Regions from separate parts of the Homo sapiens genome. Here region 1 is linked to region 2. Evidence: promoter capture Hi-C in human tissues and cell types (Jung and others, 2019). All regions are on one chromosome and are shown on one strand. The core of a region is centred on a gene start or on the middle of the fragment in contact, and the rest is flanking DNA. Distances in the headings are between cores, read along the strand shown. Region 1 has its middle 7.8 kb from the start of MIR3649. Region 2 holds the start of ITFG2 (integrin alpha FG-GAP repeat containing 2).

The links. Contacts are between HindIII fragments. The study calls those that stand out against the background at their distance.
Region 1: a fragment that was not itself captured here is called in contact with the fragment with the promoter of ITFG2 in region 2 in 1 of the 25 tissues and cell types used here (spleen).

What each region holds. Positions count from the first base shown.
Region 1 is chr12:1,649,825-1,655,411 of GRCh38, reverse strand. No RefSeq gene overlaps it. Among named protein-coding and RNA genes, the nearest start is that of MIR3649, 7.8 kb to the left of the region's middle. The HindIII fragment of the contact is 3,937 bases long and covers 1-3,378 here.
Region 2 is chr12:2,807,851-2,813,917 of GRCh38, reverse strand. It overlaps ITFG2 (integrin alpha FG-GAP repeat containing 2), which reads right to left and starts at 1,250. Exons shown (of 12, transcript NM_018463.4): 1 at 1,062-1,250. The coding sequence starts at 1,157. ITFG2-AS1 (ITFG2 antisense RNA 1) reads left to right here and starts at 994. Exons shown (of 4, transcript NR_146317.1): 1 at 994-1,356. RefSeq lists enhancers at 974-1,223, 954-1,703 and a silencer at 1,334-1,423. The HindIII fragment of the contact is 16,489 bases long and covers 1-5,940 here.

The DNA.
Region 1 (5,587 bases), core at 161-2,660, 1.2 Mb after region 2:
CTGAGTCACAGAAAGACAGGAGTCACTGCTCCTTCCCTTGCCTCCTCGGTGGGTACACCAGGAAGCGAGCACTGCATTCTCCTATGGAATCCCAATACCTGCTTCTGCTTCCTACCTTCTGTCCCAGCAGAGCCTCTGGTAGAGTCCCCTGTTCCAGCACGACATGCAGTTTCAGTGCTGTGCCTGGTGGGACTGCATCGCCAGCATGTCACAGGGCCAGGGCCACACTGAGTTTAGGGATGGGGCCTTTGAGAAGCTGAAAACATGTCACTTAATTCAAATATATTTACGGTTGTCTCCTTGTGATAGGAATTATGCATTTGTGATGGAGTTGAGTCCTGGCACAGAGATCAAGAGGCCGGAAGAGCAGATTGGAAAAGGGAGTTCAGAAGCTTAGTCCATGGTCCTGTCCGCTCAAGATCAGACATGCTTGGAGCTCTGCTGAATTTTAATCTTCACTCTTATTCAAAACCATTGACTCCTAACGCCTGGGAAAGCCAGTGGAGAGAGGGCTTCCCTCTGAGTAAATTCGAGGGAAGCATGTGGTAGAGAATACCCATGGCTGTCTTGTAAAATGAAGCCCCCAGGCACCAGCTCTAAATTCCCTACCGAATGTGACTTACTCATCTAGTTCCATCGTCCAAGGCCCCAGTTTTCTCTTTGCTTCAATATGTACATCAATATACTATCTTCAACTTTTGTAGCATTTTCTATGCTGTTTAGCCCTGTATGCATTATCTGTTTCCTTTTTTTTTTTTTTTTTTTTTTGAGACAGGGTCTCACTGTAACCCCAGGCTGGAGTGCAGTGGCACGATGATGGTTCACTATAGCCTTGAACTCCTAGGCTCAAGCAATCCTCCCACCTCACCCCCGGCCAGTAGCTGGGACTACAGGTATGTGCCACCATGCCTGGTTTTTTTTTTATACAGGGTCTCACTGTTACCCAGGCTGGAAGGAATGCAGTGGCGTGATCATGGCTCACTGCAGCCTCGAACTCTTGTGCTCAGGTGATCCTCCCACTTTTGCCTCCTGAGTAGCTGGGACTACAGGCAGGCACCACCATGCCCAGCTAATTTTTTGTGTTTTTTTAATAGAGACAGGGTCTCACTATGTTGCCCAGGCTGGTCTCGAACTCCTAGACTCATGCAATCCGTCTACTTCAGCCTCCCAAAGGGCTGGGATTACAGGCATAAGCCACTGCATTCAGCCTTTTTTTTTTTTTTTTTTTTTTTTTTGTGGAAACAGGGTCTCACTGTGTTGCTCAGGCTGGTTCAAACTCCTGGTCTCAAGTGATCCCCCTGCCTCAGCACCCCCAAAATCTTGGGATTGCAGGCATGAGCCACCGCACCTTGCCTGTTTACTTTAGATTTGGGATCCCCAAGTTCCCCCTGCCATATGCCCCTACCAAATGAAATCTCTCTAGTCACTCTTCTCATTCAACATTCATGGTGGCAAGACGAGGAAGATTATTGTACACTCCCTGAGACTTAGAAGGAAATGGGCACCTGTTATTTCAGCTGACCAGATTCCTTACCCAGAAATCCACCTGAAAGAGGTCTGGAGTCAGCATGAATTACTAGCTGTGTGAGGTGAGGGATGCCGCTTCACCACTCTGAGTGTTAGCTTTCCCATCTGAAACACGTGGATAATATTGGCTACACTGCAGAGGCCCTGAGAGGATTACATGTAATGTATGTAAAGCAGCTGGTACACAGTAGTACTCAATAAATGGTAGCTATAATTATTACTCACCTCCTTCATCATAATCTTCAAGCATGAAAAGTACTGTGGGTGTCTTGAGGGTCCAGCCGAGCAGGACAAGGCATTCCTTTCATGTTTTCTTTCCTAACTGCATTGCCCTCCTCACTCATTCTTTTAAAACTAAGTAAAATAAGACTGACCTAATTCTTCCCACATTTATCCAAATGAAAAATCTAGAACTCAGCTTTGCTGCTCTCCAGATTCTGTTTTCTGCCATCAATCCGCAAGGACACACCACCCAACTTTTTTTTAAATTTACAATTTTTTTTTGAGACAGAGCCTTGCTCTGTCGCCCAGGCTGGAGTGCAGTGGCATGGTCTCCACTTACCACAACCTCTCCCTCCCAGTTCAAGCGATTCTCCTGCCTCAGCCTACTCAGTAGCTGGGATTACGGGGGTGCAGGCTACCACACCTGCCTAATTTTTTTGTATTTTTAATAGAGATAGGGTTTCACCTTGTTGGCCAGGCTGGTCTCGAACTCCTGACCTCAAGTGATCCCCCCCCCCCCCCGCTTCGGCCTCCCAAAGTGCTGGGATTACAGGTGTGAGCCACCGCGCCCAGCCAAAAAAAAAAAAAAAAAAATGTTTTTTTGAACCAAGGTGCGGGCCAGAGCTATTCGGCTAGAACTGAGAAGATAGCGACACTGTGTGGTCACATGCAGAACTGCAGACCAGTCTGGAGTGGGTTCCAGGCTGATCATTTGCTCCGACCTAAGGCCGTGATATCTGTCAGATGAGACGTTAGGTCCATTAAAAAGTTTACTTGCATGTTAGAAAATAAAATGAGGAAGGAAACATAGCACCTAAAAAGCGTGAGTGTAATTATTTCCTATTTCACAGACGTGTCCTGCCTGTCATAGCATTCAAGGTCTATATGGCTTTTGCTGTCAAAACAAAAAGGACAAAAGAAGGCCAGCCACAGGGCGTAAGTCAGTTTTCTTTCTTTCTTTCTTTCTTCTTTTTGAGACAGAGTTTCGCTGTATTTGCCCAGGCTGCTGGAGGTGCAATGGTGCCATCTCAGCTCACTGCCACCTCCGCCTCCCGGGTTCAAGCGATTCTCCTTGCCTCAACCTCCCAAGTAGCTGGGATTACAGGCACCCACCACCACGCCCGGCTAATTTTTGTATTTTTTAGTAGAGACGGGGTTTCACCATGTTGGCCAGGCTGGTCTCGAACTCCTGACCTCAGGTGATCCGCCTGCCTTGGCCTCCCAAAGTGCTGGGGTTACAGGCGTGAGCCACCACACCCGGCTGTAAGTCAGTTTTCAAATGCCTGCTGGGTGCCCCCAAGAGCCGTGGAAGATTTGCAGAAACATCCTGGCAACCCTTACCCCTCTCAGGTCTTACTTTTTGGCATGCTCAGACCTTGAAGAATGAGGAAAATGTATGAAGGAAGCAATTGATACTGTAGAGTGGTCCTGTCAGAGGGAAGATACCTTTAAATCATCCACAGGGATGACTGGCCTTCAAATACAGCTCAGTATTGAAAAATGAATGCACCTGCAGGGCAGAATACCAGCCAGGGGCTGTCACTGACTCTAGTCTATTCTCTGCTTCTTAGCAACTTGGCTGCCTGAACCCTGCAAGGTAGATGAATGGGTGTGTGTCCTATCCTGGGTTATTCAGAGAACAGAAGCCTTCCTCTTCACACTAGTGGGCTCAGGTTTTTCCTTATTTTAGACAATCCTCAGGACTTGTTCCATAATTATGCATTTTCACAGATAAAAGACTCCTCAGTAAAGCTATCATGAGAATTTCCAGAGTAAATACTTAGGGGTCTCATTCACACCAACTGGATTATGTGTTCTCTGGATCTAACCATCCGCCGAGAAATTTATGAGAACGTGAGCAGTTCCTCTCACCTTGATGAGTTCTTCAGCCCCTCCACTCATTGACTTGAACTGCTGCAAAGTCATGCAATGGTGGACAGAGCCCTGACCAGAAGCCCCTCCTGGGAATCTGGGACAAGGACCAGGAGAGATTCAGAGTCCCTTCCTGGGGCTGGAACTGTGAGAGAGAGAGAGAGAGAGAGAGAGAGAGAGAGAGAGACCTCAGAGGAGAGAGGAGGAAGGGAGAGGGATCCAGAGGTGTCCAGGTCAGCTCCTGAAGACCCTGGCGTCTTTGAGACTCTTGGGACCCTCATGTCATACTCCTTCTTCATAATCTGACTCAAATTGGTTTCTATTACTTGCAATTTTGATAGAACAAATGATATGATGGACCACGCAGTTAATCACATTATGCCTCAGTTTCCTTGTCTGTTCATGAAGAAACATCATTCATTCATTCACTCAGCAAATATCTATTGAGTGCTTTCTTTGTGCTAGGCACTGTTGTGGGTGATGGCAGACATAGCAGGGAACAAAAGAGGTATCAAAACTTCCCTTATGAAACGTAACTGCTGCTAAGAAGTCTCTGGAAATAAATATACGAAAGACGTAACTTCCAAATCAGGGACCAGCCGAAGAGCTGGCTGACCCAACAGGCAGAGCACCAATATGGAATGAGGCCAGGGTCACTTCAAACAGTACTCACTCCTTTTGGCTTTACAGTGAGATTGGATCAAAAGGGTTCACCTTTTCTATAGTGTCTGTTCTTTCACGTCTTTCCTTGGGTCCCTGCTGAAGTCCCCTCCTGATATTCTGCTGAAAGCCTCCCCACCACCCGGTTTCCACACCAGCAAACCCTCTCTTGCCCCGAGTGATTTGAGTCTGTTTCTTTCTCTCTCTTTCTCTCTCTCTGTCAATACTGCAGTTTCCTTCTGGCTTTGGCTGTGAGCAGCTTTCAGTCTATTTTCAGTTCTCCTGTGGAGCAGCAGATAATACACATACATCTGTAATTCTTAAAATCTCATTGGAACCATCCCTCCTCCCACCCAGTTGTTTATCACAACGACTTAGAAGGCCTAAATTAACTGATTCAGCTCTGTCTTCTACTGCTGCTTCTGGTAGGGCTGCAAATGAGCAGCATGAAGACCAAAAGGCCTGCAGCAAGAGGGAGGAAGCAAGGACTGGAGAATCTACGTGAGGAATGCCCAAACTCTGCAACAAGCTAGAAAATTAACTGTGGATGGCTTCAGTCTTCCACACTGCCTGACGTCTGATCCTCACTGCTGGGCCCAAATCTTCTTACTTCAGAGAAAAATGGGCAAGCTCCCATACTTCTTATGTAAAACCAGAATTAAAGCACCCACCCTTTACTTACTGTTTTAGTATAAACACAATGCAGAGATTCTTACATAATAAAGAACTAACAGTAACACTTAGCAACCATGGCTCACAGCCCTTCTCAGCTCCCCAACATTCCTTCTAGAGATATGAAGCCTGTCATCACCAGCCAGGCAGAGGACAAACATTTCCAATAAAGATAGACAACCCAGGCTCTGCAACGTCTCAGCCAGAAGTGTTGAGTTGTTTTTAATTTTTTACATACTCCATGCCTCTGGTGCCTCTCCACCTCCACCCCCAAATTAATGAAAAATACTCATTTCCAGACACACACATAGAGAGACACACACACACACACACACACACACACACACACACACACAGAGGTTCTCCCAAAATCCACCTGCCCAGTGTCAGTGGTGTCTGGCAATGGAGCAGAGTGTTTCAGATGGAAACACTATTTTCCACACTCTCGGGGTGGTGTGGCTCTCTGCCAAGGAATAGGCTTGTCTGATAAGCTACTGCATCTGTAAGATCTCTATCTCATGGAGGACATCTTGCTAGTTCCTAAAACTGCAGGGGATGACGGAGCTTAAATACGATACTAATGATTAAAGAGAGGAAGCAGGGCAGAATTTCCAAGGCAATAGCCAATTTGAGG
Region 2 (6,067 bases), core at 1-2,500:
CATAAAATTGGACTGCTTGGCAGTTCATGAAGAAACACGAAAGCCCAGAAAACATAACACAAATTTATGAGAATAACTCTTTCCTCCCCAGAGAGGGTAGAGCCAAAAAAGGCCTCATAAGATACCTTCTGCATCACAGCACTAGGGGGCGGTGGGAAATAAGTACAGGACAGTTAAGGAACTGTGAAGCAGGGAGGCCGAGTAGGAAGATAGGGCAGAGGGTAGAAGGGGGCAATACAGTGCTTTGCATTAGAACTATGAAATAGATGATAAATGAAAAGATAAAGTCTGCAAAAAAAAGAGCATCAGACACTATTCCCTTTAATGCTCCACCGGAGAATCCTCTCCATACTTTAGTCAATGCATCTCATTACATTTTATTATCCGGTGACTATTACACAGCTTGATTATGAGCTATCTGAGGACTGGAACTCTCTCGTTCATTTTTGAATTCCTAGAATGTAGCAGAGTCCTTGGTGCATAATGAGCAGTTCAGTAAAGATTTGCAGAAAAACAGAATAAAATACTAACACCACCACCACCACCACTAACACTTAAGTGAGCACTAAACTGTGTGCCAGGCATTGTTTTACCTGCTTGACCTGTGGTAATTTATTTAAAAAACGAGAAGGGCTGGGCACGATGGCTCAGGCCTGTAGTCCCAGCACTTTGGGCCAACATGGTGAAACCCCACCTCTACTAAAAACACAAAAATTAGTCGGGCGTGGTGGCGGGCGCCTGTAATCCCAGCCCCTTGGGAGGCTGAGGTAGGAGAATCGCTCGAGCCCGGGAGGCAGAGGTTGCGGTGAGCCGAAATCAAGCCACTGCACTCCAGCCTGGGTGACAGACGGAGCCTGTCTCAAAAAACAAACAAAACCTCCCAAGGAACAAAACCAACCACGAACACTGAAGCTATCAATAAAGTTTTTCTCTCTAGCGCTCCAAACTAGCCACAGCGCGCATGCTCACGCTCACGTGGCACGCTCGGGCGGCCTCTTCCACTTCCCTTGCCCCGTCCCTGCACAGATCCAGGCTGTCTCTTGCGGTGCGCATGCACCTACCGTATCGTTATCAACGTCTCCGAGGCAGATTGCGTGCGGGAAGAGGCTCCCGCTGAACTCCAGCGCCACGCGCTGCACGTAGCTAACTGACCTCATGGCACCTCCAAGAGCAGAGGGAGCGGAGAGGCCCAGTAAATATTCCCTGAACCCCCGTCGCGACAGCCGCCAGAGCGGAAGGCCACCTAAGGCAGCAAGTTACGTCACTGCCTGAACCTCCAATCTCTGCCTCTTCCTCCTTTAACCTTACAGAGGAGGCGGGTCTTCCGGGCTTGGAGGCGGGCTTCCCAACTCTGATGTGAGTGACAGGCCCACGGGCCACTCCTTTTCTCCACAGGGCTGCAGACCGTGGGTAAACCAACCCTGACGGGGGTCGATCTGTTCCCTTGGCAACAGGGCTCCCAAGGGCTTGACCTAATAACCTTGACCTTTTTCCTTTGTTTCCCTGGCAATGAAGATTCCTAGCCATCAGACCATTCCTGAGAATCTTACTAATCTTCGTAATAACTGATAATTGCATGGTTTTGAAAAGTGTTTTTAAAAAACTACCCATTAGGAGTGAAAACAATGTAGTGAGTTGCAATCAGCATATAAAAAATTAAATACAATAGTAATATACCAAGTGACTCCCAGGTAGTAAGGTAAGTACAGTTTTTGTGAAACTCTTGTTTCAATTGTATATACTTATATGTGTATACTGGCTTATAATGTAAAAAAAATTTTTTTTTTCAGTGTATGTGTTTTCTGGTCAATAGTTTAAAAGCCACCTGCTGCAAAGCACATTTCACATATTTCACATAATTAGTTCAGCCACTATGCGAGCTTTTTTTTTTTTTGGCTGAGGAAAACAGGTTCAGCAAGATTAAGTAAAATGGCAGAAGGAAGGATTGTGGGGCGGGGTGCGTGCTCAAACCAGAATTGTTTGATCCCAAACCCTAGGGCCTCTCCATCATTTACTATCATAGTTCGTAGGAGAGTCTTCAGGCTGGAAGTGAAGGTTGCCTGGATTCCGGATCTGCTCTGTCTTGTGGCCCCCCAGCACAAAGCTCTTGCATCTCAACCTCAGTAGCCTTACTCTTGTAGCACAGATGGGACTGTCACTCTCATGGCTGGCTTCTTGGGATACTTTCTTTCCATGTTGAATCCAGTTCTGCCTTTCTTTGGGGTGCCTCGTCAATCAGGGCAATATTTATGAAATCATACAGGTGTTCAATACATTTTTAGATTTAGGTCTAAAAACCCAGGCTGACTCGCACTTGGTGTTTCAAAAAAAAAAAAAAAATGATTCTACCTTATCTGGGATTTTGGACCAGGGGCTGTTCCTTTTTATCTTTTTTTTTTTTATTTTTATTTTTATTTTTTTTTGAGACAGAGTCTCGCTCTGTTGCCCAGGCTGTAGTGCAGTGGCGCAATCTCGGCTCACTGCAACCTCTGCCTCCCAGGTTCAAGCAGTTCTCCTGCCTCAGCCTCCCGAGTAGCTGAGACTACAGGCGAGCGCCACCACGCCCAGCTAATTTTTAATTTAATTTAATTTAATTTTTTTTTTTTTTGAGACGGAGTCTCGCTCTGTCACCCAGGCTGGAGTGCAGTGGTGCGATCTCGGCTCGCTGCAAGCTCCGCCTCCCGGGCTCAAGCCATTCTCCTGCCTCAGCCTCCGGAGTAGCTGGGACTACAAGCGCCCGCTACCACTCAAGGAGAATTTTTTGTATTTTTAGTAGAGACGGCGTTTCACCGTGTTAGCCAGGATGGTCTCGATCTCCTGACCTCGTGATCCACCCGCCTCGGCCTTCCAAAGTGCTGGGATTACAGGCATGAGCCACCGGCGCCCGGCCGCCCAGCTAATTTTTGTACTTTTAGTAGAGACGGGGTTTCACCATGTTGGCCAGAATGGTCTTGATCTCTTGACCTCTTGATCTGCCCGCCTCGGCCTCCCAAAGTGCTGGAATTACAGGCGTGAGCCACTGCGCCCGGCCCCTTTTTTCTTTTTCTTTCTTTTTTTTCTTTGAGAGTCTTGCTCTGGAGTGCAGTGGTGCGATCTGGGCTCATTGCAACCTCCGCCTCCCAGGCTCGAGATCTTGTGTCTCAGCCTCCCAGGTAGGTGGGATTACAAGCGTGAGCCACCATGCCCGGCTTGTCCCTACTTTCTATGTCTGTACATAGTGGGAGGAGGCTGGAGGGCAAGACCTTTTCTTGGGGGAAGGGGGTGGCAGATTTTTTCCTAGATGTCCCAGTGGATCTGACAGCCAGGTAAGAAAGAACAGCAGGTCAGAACAGTAAACTGGAGGAAGTCTGGACAAATACTGGAGACTGCAGATATATTCTGAAGCTGAACTGTGTTACAAGTTCATATTTCTGGTTGTGTACTGTGGGATGGCCAGGTCCATTAAAAGGCACTGGGTCCCACAGGTATTCCTGGTGCTTTGAATACATTTTCTCATTTACAGAGCAGTTGCATGCTCCCTCACCCCGTGTTCTACCCCATCTCTATTCTCTCATCCTAGTTCAAATCCTAAGCTTCATATTAGGCCTTTAAGGGGTGGGAAAACCAAAACCAGTATCAAAATGTTCACCTCTAGGTTGGCTGTGGAGGCTCATGCCTGTAATTCCAGCACTTTTGGAGACTGAGGCAGGCAGATCACTTGAGCTCAGGAGTTCAAGACCAGCCTGGACAACATGGCAAAACCATGACTCCACCAAAAATGCAAAAATTAGCTGGGCATAGTGGTGCATGCCTGTGGTCCCAGCTACTCAGGAGGCTGAGGCGGGAAGATCTCCTGAGCCCAAGAGGCAGAGGTTGCAGTGAGCCAAGGTGGTGTCACTGCACTCCAGGCTGGGTGAAAGTGAGACTCTGTCTCCAAAAAAAAAAAAAAAAAAAAAACTTTACCTCTGAAATGGTTTTTTCTTTCTTTCTTTCTTTTTTTCTGAGGCAGTCTCCCTCTGTCACCCAGGCTGGAGTGCAATGACACGATCTCGGCTCACTGCAACCTCCGCCTCCCGGGTTCAAGCGATTCTCCTGCCTTAGCCTCCTGAGTAGCTGGGACTACAGGAGACTGCCACCACGCCCAGCCAATTGTTTTTGTATTTTTAGTAGAGACGGGGTTTCACCATATTGGCCAGGCTGGTCTTGAACTCCTGACCTTGTGATCTGCCTGCCTCGGCCTCCCAAAGTGCTGAGATTATAGGCATGAGCCACCACGCCCGGCCTCTGAAGTGGTTTTAAAAAAATATATTACTAAATAACTCAGAACAAGAGATGAGATCACCCAGCTTCTTTCATCAGGTGCCTTGGCCTGACCCAGTTATCTAAGATCAGACCCCAACCCAGGATTCCCCAGTGCCTTAGTTTTATCTTCCTCATCATTTGGGTTTCTTGGTCTGGATCTTTCTGTGACACGGGGTGTCTGTTTTTAATTGTAGAATATGTTTGCCATGAAGGTCATGTAATTATGATCACAACTTCTTTTTTACTTTTTTTTTTTTTTGAGATGGAGTCTCGCTCTGTCGCCTAGGCTGAGTGCAGTGGCACGATCTCAGCTCACTGCAAGCTCTGCCCTCCGGGTTCACGCCATTGTCCTGCCTCAGCCTCCCGAGAAGCTGAGACTACAGGCACCCGCCACCACACCCGGCTAATTTTTTGTATTTTTAGTAGAGAATGGGTTTCACTGTGTTAGCCAGGATGGTCTCAATCTCCTGACCTCATGATCCACCCACCTCAGCCTCCCAAAGTGCTGGGATTACAGGCGTGAGCCACTGTGTCTGGCCTTCTTTTTCACTTTTTTGAGTTTCACTCTTCTTGCCCAGGCTGGAGTGCAATGGTGCGATCTTGGCTCACCGCAACCTCCGCCTCCCGGGTTCAAGCGATTCTCCTGCCTCAGCCTCCCGAGTAGCTGGGATTACAGGTGTCCACGACCATGCCCAGATAATTTTTTTTGTAGTAGAGACAGGGTTTCACCATGTTGGCCAGGCTGGTCTTGAACTCTTGACCTCAGGTGATCAAAGTGCTCGGCCTCCCAAAGTGCTGGGATTACAGGCCACCATGCCTAGACGTATGATCACAACTTCTATACCACACTTTTTGGCTTTTGTCAAGAGAGCCAAATAAAGTTAGGCAGGAAAGATAGGTCTCCAAGAAATAGGGCACAAGTGAAGTCCTTCCATGCCTGTGCCTCTCCCCACCTTGCATCAGTTACTTTAAGTCCAGTGAGTGTTTTGTATGACTAGGCATTGTCAAGCCATATGGACAGATCCCTGGCTCCACAAAGAGCACTCCTGGTCTTGGCCCCTTTCTAGTTGGAAGGTTGCTAGGTCTCTTTGGGCACCATCTAAACTCCATCTTGTCTAAGCCAAGCACTCTTTCTGCTGGTTTTTGTCTTGCTCCCCAAAACTGTCTAATTAGGGTATCTTCCTGGTTAGGTGACATGGATACAGTTATATGAGTGGCATATTCTTTACAAACAATAGAAATCTCCATAGGAGGGGATGGGGGGATTAAGTGGGGAGCGTTTCTTTCTTTTTTTTTTTTTTTAAGATGGAGTCTTACTCTGTCGCTCAGGCTGAAGTGCAGTGGCGCGCTCTTGACTCACTGCAAGCTCCACCTCCCAGGTTCACACCATTCTCCTGCCTCAGCCTCCCCAGTAACTGGGACTACAGGCTCCCGCCACCACACCCAGCTAATTTTTTTTTTGTGTGTGTATTTTTAGTAGAGACGGGGTTTCACCGTGTTAGCCAGGATGGTCTTGATCTCCTGACCTCGTGATCCGCCTGCCTTGGCTTCCCAAAGTGATGGGATTACAGGCGTGAGCCACTGCGCCCAGCCAGTGGGAAGCATTTCTAGGAAGATTCTTTGTGTACTTCATCCTCCAACAGTAGACAGAATGGTTTGTGTTTGCCCAGGGTGCCCAGGTAAGAAACAGGGTCTCCAAGTATCTTTCAAAACATGAGGCCCAGAGCCTCACCACCTTGGGGGCAGGGTCCATGGCTTCTCAATGGGCTTGGTTTGGCTTATATCA